Regions from separate parts of the Homo sapiens genome. Here all the other regions are linked to region 3. Evidence: promoter capture Hi-C in human tissues and cell types (Jung and others, 2019). All regions are on one chromosome and are shown on one strand. The core of a region is centred on a gene start or on the middle of the fragment in contact, and the rest is flanking DNA. Distances in the headings are between cores, read along the strand shown. Region 1 overlaps TMPRSS3 (transmembrane serine protease 3). Region 2 has its middle 10 kb from the start of TFF3. Region 3 holds the start of TFF2 (trefoil factor 2).

Region 1 (2,753 bases), core at 1-2,500, 41 kb before region 3:
TGTTTATTCCAGGCAATGTCCTCAAGGACCAAGCACAGAGGAGGCGTGGGGCCCCTGCAGTGCCCTCAGGGCAGCCTGACAGAGAAGCAGGGCAAACGGGAACTGACACAGCCTTTCGATTAAATGTCAATCTTTGATTTGACAATTTGGGGTCATTTTCTAAATCCAACTTAAATACAGAGCAGCTGGAATGTGAAGATGTCATTCCTGGGGTTCCTGCAGATTTCTAAGTATAAGACGAAGGGTGGGCATCCTTATAGAGGAGAATTGTTAGTGTGCGGGGGATCGAGGTGTGAGGGTGGAGAGAGGATCCTTTCTGCCAGCTCACCACCGCAGATGGGCTGTCCTGGAAGGACTTGGTCTCAGACCCTGAGTTAAAACGGCCTTCATTATCATGATGTCATTCATTCATCTAGCACATTTTTATCAAGGACTACTGTGTGTCCCCTGCTGTTCTAGGTATGGATAATGCAGCTTCAACAAACCACTGAGCTTGTCCAGGCCTAAAACACAGAACTTGCCACGGTCTCTCATCCTCCCTCACTCTGCGTTCCTCACAGCCTCCACATCTGCGAAGTGCAGCTTCTATTTCCCTGCTCTTCCTCCATCTCCTGCTCACCCTCTCCTCTGCACACTCTTTTCTCCTCGCATTCCATGTCTTTTCATCATTTTTGTCTTCAAATTCTCTTCTTTCTTAGGCAGCCTCAACTGATATTGATCATTTCATTATCACACTCCTTATTGCCAGAGGGTAGAAGTTGTGAGTCTCCACGGTCAGGCAGGGAAAGATCTTTTTAGCTCTTCCATGACAGAGCTCTCGGCTCAACATGTCCAAGACTAGGAGAAGAGAGGCAGGTGCCAGTCTCATCCTGGGCAATTGTGTGACCCTGGGCAGGCTTCTCTCCCCTTTCTGGATTCCAATCTTCCTTATTTTTAACAAAGACAACTTGGGCATTCATGTATTTTTAGGATTGATGAGGTAATTTAGGTGAAATGGCCTGCTCTCCCCAGGAGGGAAGAGTGCTAGTGGGAATTCTCCTGCTGCCCAGAGAGGCTTATACTTCTGGCCAGGCATCTGGACACTCCTTACATATTGTTTCCACCAGATTTGCCTGGTTCTAGGGGCAAGAACTGTAAAGGGCCTGAGATGTCACCCTACTTGCAAGCCAAAATTTAGCCTGCCACAGTTTCATGGGTGCTTTGGAAGACACGAGAGTCCTGGGTCAGAGACAAAGGACTCTATTCCTCACAGTGCAGCAAGGGGCACAAATATCCTGTTTGTGCTGGCTGCCTTTGCCTTCTCAGTCCCACAGAGGCATGTGGAGCAGCCTGTGTATGCCGCACGTGCAGGCAGTTTGCATTGCTGCTGCATATCCCAGAGTTAAGGGAACCCTCATCTTTACAGTGGTCTGCAAGCAGACCTGTGCAAACTTTGCTCTGGAGGAAGGCATTATATTTGTTAAACTGGACAGTAAACAAACCTGCCTCTTGCTCTGGAGGGAGACGCTATCTGTATCTTCCAAGGCTGTTTGCTCTACACACATTCTTGAAGAGATGATCTGGAATGAAAGCTGTCAGTGTCTGTGCACAGCAATTGTGGAGAATGGTGTATCAACATCCTGTCCTCGGCTGGACATGGTGGCTCACGCTTGTAATCCCAGTACTTTGGAGAGCCAAGTGGGGAGAATCACTTGAGCCCAGGAGTTTGACATCAGCCTGAGCAACATAGTGAGATCCCCATCTCTATAAGAAAAAATTTAAACAAACAAACAAAAATCAACATCTTGTCCTTGCATCTCCTCTGGGAGATCTCAGCACTACCTCTGCCTGCAAGCCCCCCGTGTGGGTTTCACCCCCTCCTCTGCAGGGAAACAGCCTTGGAAGTTGGGATGCTACTTCCCCTCCATCTTAGTGTCATAGGGCTGCTGAAACAAAGTCCCCAAAACTGGGTGACTTAAAACAACAGGAATTTATTGTCTCAGTTCTGGAGGCCAGAAGTCTGAATTCCAAGGTGTCATCAAGGCCATACTCCCTCTTAAACCCATAGGGCACCGTGCCCTGCCTCTTCCTAGCTCCTGGTGGTTTGCCAATAATCTTTGGCATTTCTTGGTGTGTAGATGCATTGTTCCCATCTCTGCCTTCATCTTCATGAGGCTGGCTTCTGCCTGTGTCTCCTCCCATCCTCTTCCCTTCATGCATGTTTGTCCCTGTGTCCTGATTTCTCCTTTTTGTTTTTGTGTTTTGGAGACGGAGTTTTGCTCTTGTTGCCCAGGCTGGAGTGTAGCAGTGCGATCTCAGCTCACTGCCACCTCTGCCTCCCAGGTTCAAGCGATTCTCATGCCTCAGCCTCCTGAGTAGTTGGGATTACAGGTGCCTGCCATCATGCCCAGCTAATTTTTGTATTTTTAATAGAGATGGGGTTTCACCATGTTGGCCAGGCTTGTCTTGAACTCCTGACTTCAGGTGATCCACCCGCTTTGGCTTCCCAAAATGTTGGGATTACAGGAGTGAGCCACTGCACCCGGCTGTTTTCCCCCTTTTTATAAGGGCAACAGCCACGTTGGATTAGGGCCCACCCTAATGACTCATTTTAACTAGATGACTCTGTAAAGACTCTCCAGGCCATCTCCAAATAAGATGCCATTCTGAGGTACTAAGAGTTAAGACCTCAACGTGTCTTTCTGGGGGATACTATTCAACCCATAGCACATCCCCTCATCCCCCATGGAATAACCGGGTCAGAGGTGGAGCAG
Region 2 (3,459 bases), core at 665-3,164, 46 kb after region 3:
CCACCCGGCCCCCTGGTTGTGGCTTCGTTAGTATCTGCAGAGCAGAGCAGCAGGAAGCACAGACCAACAGCTGCTTGCACCGGGGAAAGGGCAGAGAAGGGAAATAAAACAGCGGGGCGGGCCTGAGGGGATCTGTTGGTTCTTCAGGAAGAGTGCCCTGCCACAGGTTTACCTGCGTCTGGCTTCACCATCTCTCTGTAGAACGAGGTTGTTAACAAGTGGTACCTACTGCGATGCCAGCCACAGTGGTGGTGTGGGGAAGATCAGCCCCCTCGTGCAGGGGTGCAGCCAATTTGGCTGGCAACAGCACTGTGGACTCCTTGCCCAAGAGGCTGCAGCCTTGGGAGGGTTCATGGCACCCCACGCACCTTACGTCCCCAAGAGTCACCTCTTTTGGGTATAACCTGGAGGCCCCAGGGCTGGAGGCAGAATGTCCGTGCTGAGTGGGACGACCTGGGCACCGTGAGAGTGGGGGGTGCTCCGTGGGATTGCAGGCCCCACCGTTTTTACATTTTGGATATCCTTCTGCTTGGGGTTCCAGAAAGGCTTCTACAGCTTGAATGGTGGGTTGTAAGGATATAAGTAGAAGGATGTTTTCCAAATTTTCAGATTTATGAAGGCATGGCCTTTTGCAGAAACAATCTCAGGGTCCGTTGGAGGACTGTGGCTGCATGGACTCTGGAGCGCTCTGATAAAGATGTGCCAGACGCTGCGTGGATTCTGGAGCGCTCCCGGTGTGGGGTACTGCTCGCTGCATGGATTCTAGAACGCTATGACGAGGAGATGCCACGTGCTGCGTGGATTCTGGAGCACTCCGGGTGTGGGGTGCTGCTGGCTTCATGGATTCTGGAGCGCTCCGGGTGTGGGGTGCTGCTCGCTGCACGGGTTCTAGAGCGCTCCGATTAAGGGGTGCTGCGCACTTCATGGATTCTGGAGCACTCTGACGAGGGGGTGCCGCGTGCTTCATGGATTCTGGAGCGCTCTGGATGTGGGGTGCTGCGCTCTGCATGGATTCTGGAGTGCTCCGAAGACGGGGTGCCGCGCGGCTGCATGGATGCTGGAGTGCTGCGACAAGGGGATGCCGCGCGGCCGATAAGCAGGAGTGGGGAACAGTGCGCGTCTGGTCTGTGGCGCCTGCAGCGATTCCGAGCCAGGGAAAGAGAGCTGCATGGAGTGTGGGCGGTGCCCAGCCTTTTCCCAGCAGTGGAGGGGATGGGTCATCAAATTGCTATTGGGCGCGGTGGCTCACGCCTGTAATCCCTGCACTTTGAGAGGCTGAGGTGGGCGGATCAAGAGGTCAGGAGTTCGAGACCAGCCTGGCCAATATAATGAAACCCTGTCTCTACTAAAAATACAAAAGTTAGCTGAGAATGGTGGCACGCGCCTGTAGTCCCAGCTACTCAGGCAGCTGAGGCAGAAGAATCTCTTGAACCCGGGAGGCGGAGGTTGTGGTGAGCCGAGATAACGTCATTGCACTCCAGCCTGGGCAACAGAGCGAGACCCCGTCTCAAAAACAAACAAAACAAAACAAAACAAAACAAAACAAAAACTGTTATCTGGTTGTCAACTCGAGTGACCTCATGGGGTGGGTGGGGGCGAGGTTATTGTGCTTGGCGGATGGTTTGGGGCATGGGATGGCATCTAGGGATGGAGAAACCAGGGCAGGAAGGAGGGGAGTGTGGGGGAGCGTGAGTACAGAGGCAGCTGTTGTCTTCAGTGGATCACCGTGCAAGTGGGAGGGCCGAGTCTGCATGCCAGGTCACCAGGCAGCGGCTTTTTGCACTGTCTCGTTCCTACCCACACATGCACACCTTCCTCCTCGCCTACAAGTAGGGCCCAGTAGGGCCATGTCCCAGGTGATGATCCCAGATGACATCTGGACCCAGGCCCCAGTGCTGACTCACAAGGGGTCTTGACAGCACAAGGACCTCCAGGCCGATCCCTGGAGATGTTGGCACATCATCTCACCCCTCAGCCAAGTGTCTGGGAGGAGAAGTTTCCACTGGTCATGAGGGTCAGACCTGCCACACCACTTCCTGCACAACGTGGATTCTCCTCCTGTGTGGTCTCAAATCCTAAATGCCTCTCCCGGAGGAAGGGAGAGCCATGGAGTGGCCAGGAGCCCTGCCTGGATGGCCAGGGTCTCACTTCTGCGTGCACCACCGACCAGCTCTGTGGCTTTGGCAAGTTGTGTAATATCCCTGAGCCTCGGTGTTTTTAACCTGAAAAATGGGGCCAGTTGCGGCTCTCCAGCTCTGATGACGACGGTTTGATGAGATTGCGCATGGAAAGGTAGGGTACTGTGCCACCACATGGTGCTCCATGGAGTCTGGAGCTACAGGCTTCCTTACCATCACTCTTATTTGTCTTCCTCACTGGAATCCATCCTGACACTGAAGAGAGAAGTGCTCCATTGAGAGCAAGGGCAGGTAGGGAGAAAATACGAGATGCTCTACCAGACGCGACTCCCCCAGCAGGTCTGAGAGCTGGGGCTGTTGAAAGCAAAAGGAAAGAGAAGCAGAAATCTGAAAATAATGATGCTTTATTTGATTGACATCACATCATCATAAATGGCATCTAATTTCAGAAAACAAAGTTCAAGTCCGCAAAAAATGCATGTACAAATCTAAGGAGATAGGTCTACAGAAATAGACACGTGGCTCTGTGGTCCGTAAGGTGCAGTCAGGAACCTCACATCCTAGGGTCTGTCTGGGTTCAATGTTCCAGTGGCGTGAGACAACCAAGGAAACAGACACCCCAAAGAGCCGATGTTATTTTTGAATATATATATATGTATATACATGTACATATGTAAATATGTTGCCTTCATCTGTAACAGTGCAAACCTCTCACAGCGTGCAAAGCAACAGTGTTTCCTACAGTCAAGTAACTAAATCAGTGAAAAGTTATCCACACAGCATTATAAAAACATTATATAATTACATAGCAGATATATATGCACGCCTTTGCACGCTGATTAGAGTTACTTGCATTGACTTTTGCTTTAGAAGAAATAAAAAAGGAAAATCTTTAAATAGTTCTTCATCAAATAAAAGGTAACAATTTGTAACAGATTCAACTATGAACAGGTATTGCATCAATATGTCTACAATAGAAAAACATAAATATATAAAAACAAAGGCAAAGGGGTCAGCTACACATATTAACTTACCAAACATACATGTTCTATTGAAAAACTGATCCCCATTCACACCCTCCAGGTGGGAGGATAAGACTATAAAAATGGGAAGCCAGCGTGTGGGTGTGGTGTTCTATTTTATTAGCAATTTGGATGATAGGATGTTTTGCTACTGTTTTCAGTTGGCCAATGACATAATAGTGAGATACTGATTATTAAGCTTGGGAAGCTGGTAGGTCATGGAAAAGAGACCCCAAGATGCATAATGACAGACATGTAAAAATGCAAACGTGTAAAAATGAAATCACTGCCGTGGTTAC
Region 3 (3,657 bases), core at 1,021-3,520:
ATGGGAGGGTGGCAGAAGTGGCAGAAGTGGAGTGGAGATGGAAGTTCCTAGAGATGAGGAAAAATAAAATCTGAGCGACTGTGAATTTTGATGAAACATCGACCGCCATGTTGAAGATGGCTGGGATGTGGCCAAGTCTTAGCATGACAAGGAACACAGTGAACTCAGTGCTGAAATTCTTAACGAAAGGGACAGGCTGCACAAAGGTCGGCAGATGACAGCAGGGCAGGGACTCCGGACATGGCGCCCTTCCCAGCCTGCATCTCCAAGGAGGATGGTTTTTGCATGAGGGTGAAGACTTGGGGCTCAAAGTCAATGTCCAGCCCCCAGTCTGAGCCCATGTGATGGGGACGTGGCCACCAAGTACAGTTGTGGAGGTTGTGAACAGCTCCACTTTCAACTAGCGATGCCACTCTATTGCAGACGTCCCATCTCGTGTAATGGTTTCCCAACTCTGTGGGCACTCAGTGTCCCTGCGTGGGGGCCTGAGCAGGATTCCAGGGAAGCATGCCTATGACAACACAGGCTTCCGCCAGGGCCAGGAGAGTGAGAGAGGCTGAGAAGTGGTCTCTTTTGCATGGGTCAGGTGGTCGCAGCAGGAATCCTGAAGGGGCTGCAGTGAGCGGTGGGAAGTCGAGTTGATGGGGAGGAAGCAGAGAGGAGAGGTGGGTGGGAATATGAGAGAAAACAATGACTCAGTCACTTATATCATGATGGTGACTAAAGTGACAGGGATGTAGAACAAGGAAACTGACCTTGCCAGAGTTTTCATGGATCGAGTCCCTGTGGTTGCCCAGTGGTGAACAGTCAGCAGAGAGCCTGGAGGTACTTGACCCGGACCCAGAGGAGCCCTGGAGGATGGAGCCTGGAGGACGGGGGCCTGGAGAATGAGGGTCTGGAGGACGAGGGTCTGGAGGAACAGGGGCCTGGAGGACGAGGGTCTGGAGGAAGAGGGCCTGGAGGACAGGGGCCTGAAAGATGGGGGCCTGGAGGATGAGGGTCTGGAGGATGAGGGTCTGGAGGAGCAGGGGCCTGGAGGATGAGGGCCTGGAGGACAAGAGCCTGGAGGACAGGGGCCTGAAAGATGGGGGCCTGGAGGATGGGGCCTGGAGGATGGGGGCCTGGAGGACGGGGGCCTGGAGGATGATGGCCTGAAGGATGAAACCTGGAGGATGGAGCCTGGAGGATGGAGCCTGGAGGATGAGGGCCTAGAGGATGGGGGCCTGGAGGACAGGGGCCTAGAGGATGGAGCCCTGGAGAATGGGGGCCTGGAGGATGGAGCCTGGGGGACGAGGGCCTGGAGGATGGGGGCCTGGAGTATGGGGCCTGCTCTCCAGACCCTGAGGACAGCCCCGTGGTGGACCAAGGATTTTGGGTTTCCTGCGTCTCTGGGCCCCTGACTGCTCAACCATCAGAAACAGACTGGCAACCCCCTGTCATTTCCCTGGCGTGGGGAACTTCGGGTCCCCTCTGTCCTTCCCACCACACTTTTCCCTCTTTCTTTCCGGGTGTCTACTCTCTGGCTTCTGTCTTCTCTGTCAGGTCCACAGAATCCTTCTCCAGCACATCCTACCCCAGGAAGGCCATGGGCTGGGTCCCAGGTGCCATCTTTCAGAAGATGTAGAGCATTCCCATGGAACAAAAATAACCCATTTCAGGGGTTGGCTGAAAATGAACTTATTAAAACCTGCCTGTCACAGGCTACTCCGCTGACCCTGTCAGCCTCATCTCCATGGAGAGCAGCCCCTCCTGCTGAAGATGGGACAAAGGGCATCGTGCTGCGGTTGGGGAGGCTCTAACCACAGCCCTGGGAGCAGTCTCTTACCTCCTCTGAGATGCTTCCCTTCCTCAGGGAGGGGACTTTTCCATGCTATCTGCTGGCCTGTACATTTTCCCCAGTAAACTTGGCCCTAATATTTTCTAAATTCCTGTGGTCCCTGCCCACTCTATCAATAGAAATGCATAGCTTATCCCTTCCTGGGTGTGACCCTGTGTGTGCCCAGCCCCAGACCTGCACGTGGCCGGTTTTCCACGCTGGCAGCCTGGCATGACCCAACTCTCTGTCCAGGGCAGGAAGAGGTATCACCGAGCAGGGAGAGAGTCACCCTGGCCCGGAAGCCTCGCCTGCACAGGGCACAGCTGCCTCTTGCCTCCTCTTCGCCTCCACGGTGGAAGGGCTGGGGCCACGGGGCAGAGAAGAAAGGTTATCTCTGCTTGTTGGACAAACAGAGGGGAGATTATAAAACATACCCGGCAGTGGACACCATGCATTCTGCAAGCCACCCTGGGGTGCAGCTGAGCTAGACATGGGACGGCGAGACGCCCAGCTCCTGGCAGCGCTCCTCGTCCTGGGGCTATGTGCCCTGGCGGGGAGTGAGAAACCCTGTAAGTGAAGGAGAGGGTCTTTTTATGTGCTTTCTTTATTTCTCTTAAAGAAAAAAAAAAAGCACAACCATAAATTAACTTGAGAGGGGGAATGGCTATAAAGGCATCTGGCAATGTGTGTTGTTCACATGGGATTTGCCACTGCTCAGGAGGGTGGCTCCAAGAAGGGCCTCCCTCCTAGGGAAAGGCTGAGTGACGGCAGGTGTCAGCGGGCCCCGTGTCGGGCCAGGAGGGCATTCCCACCAAGGGTCCTTGGAGTCCCAGAGCACTCACCTCTCGCCTGGATCTTGGCCTTGGGTCCATCTGTTCACCCTCCTCTAGGAGGGTTTTGTTTTTGTTTTTTTCCGAGACAGGATCTGGCTTTGCCGCCCAGGCAGGAGTGCAGTGGTGTGATCTTGGCTCACTGCAACCTCTGCCTCCCAGGCTCAAGTGATCCTCCCACCTCAGCCGCCTGAGTAGCTGAAACCACAGTTGTGGACCATCATGCCCGGCCAATTTTTTTTTTTGTATTGTTTGTAGAGATGGGGTTTCGACATGTTGCCCAGGATGGTCTTGAACTCCTGAGCTCAAGCAATCTGCCCGCCTCGGCTTCCTAAAGTGCTGGGATTATAGGTATGAGCCACCATGCCTGGCTTTTTTTTTTTTTTCCTTTTAAACTAATATAACAATTTCAGCAAAGCCCTATCGGCTTCTCAGGAGGAAACCGCATTGCTTAAATATGGGCAAGATAAGACTTTGTGTTTCTCTATGTGGCAACAAGACAGTAGAGGCATCCCCTAGAACCTCTGAGAGAAGGAGCAGTGTGGTCTGGGGTACCAGGGTGGGGCCGACTGAGGGTCTTTCCACAGCCCCCTGCCAGTGCTCCAGGCTGAGCCCCCATAACAGGACGAACTGCGGCTTCCCTGGAATCACCAGTGACCAGTGTTTTGACAATGGATGCTGTTTCGACTCCAGTGTCACTGGGGTCCCCTGGTGTTTCCACCCCCTCCCAAAGCAAGGTAATCTTCCAGGGAATCTTCCTGGGCCAGCAGCTGGCAACCCAGGACCCAGCTTCACAGGCGGAGCCCAGAGCAGGGGCCGGAGGAGGCCCAGTTGCTAGTCTAGGGTTAGCCTGGGTGGGTTAGTCTCGAGCTAGCCCCGGTTGGTTAGTCTGGGGCTAGCCCAGGTTGGTTAGTCTAGAGCTAGCCCAGGTTGGTTAGTCTGGGGCTAGCCCAGGTTGGTTAGTCTGGGGCTAGCCCAGGTTGGTTAGTCTAGGGCTAGTGTAGGCTAGTT

The links. The method cuts DNA at HindIII sites, captures the fragments that hold promoters and counts their contacts. A contact is called where the count stands out against the background at its distance.
Region 1: a fragment that was not itself captured here is called in contact with the fragment with the promoter of TFF2 in region 3 in 2 of the 25 tissues and cell types used here (mesenchymal stem cells and spleen).
Region 2: a contact is called between a fragment that was not itself captured here and the fragment with the promoter of TFF2 in region 3, in 2 of the 25 tissues and cell types used here (lymphoblastoid cells and mesenchymal stem cells).

The regions. Positions count from the first base shown.
Region 1 is chr21:42,390,220-42,392,972 of GRCh38, reverse strand. The region is part of intron 2 of TMPRSS3 (transmembrane serine protease 3); the gene reads left to right. Among named protein-coding and RNA genes, the nearest start is that of TMPRSS3, 4.5 kb to the left of the region's middle. The HindIII fragment of the contact is 6,154 bases long and covers 1-2,753 here.
Region 2 is chr21:42,303,455-42,306,913 of GRCh38, reverse strand. No RefSeq gene overlaps it. Among named protein-coding and RNA genes, the nearest start is that of TFF3, 10 kb to the left of the region's middle. RefSeq lists an enhancer at 1-257. The HindIII fragment of the contact is 3,935 bases long and covers 1-3,459 here.
Region 3 is chr21:42,349,607-42,353,263 of GRCh38, reverse strand. It overlaps TFF2 (trefoil factor 2), which reads left to right and starts at 2,270. Exons shown (of 4, transcript NM_005423.5): 1 at 2,270-2,385; 2 at 3,234-3,383. The coding sequence starts at 2,307. LOC105372815 (a long non-coding RNA gene) reads right to left here and starts at 971. Exons shown (of 3, transcript XR_937755.3): 1 at 1-971. The HindIII fragment of the contact is 10,226 bases long and covers 1-3,657 here.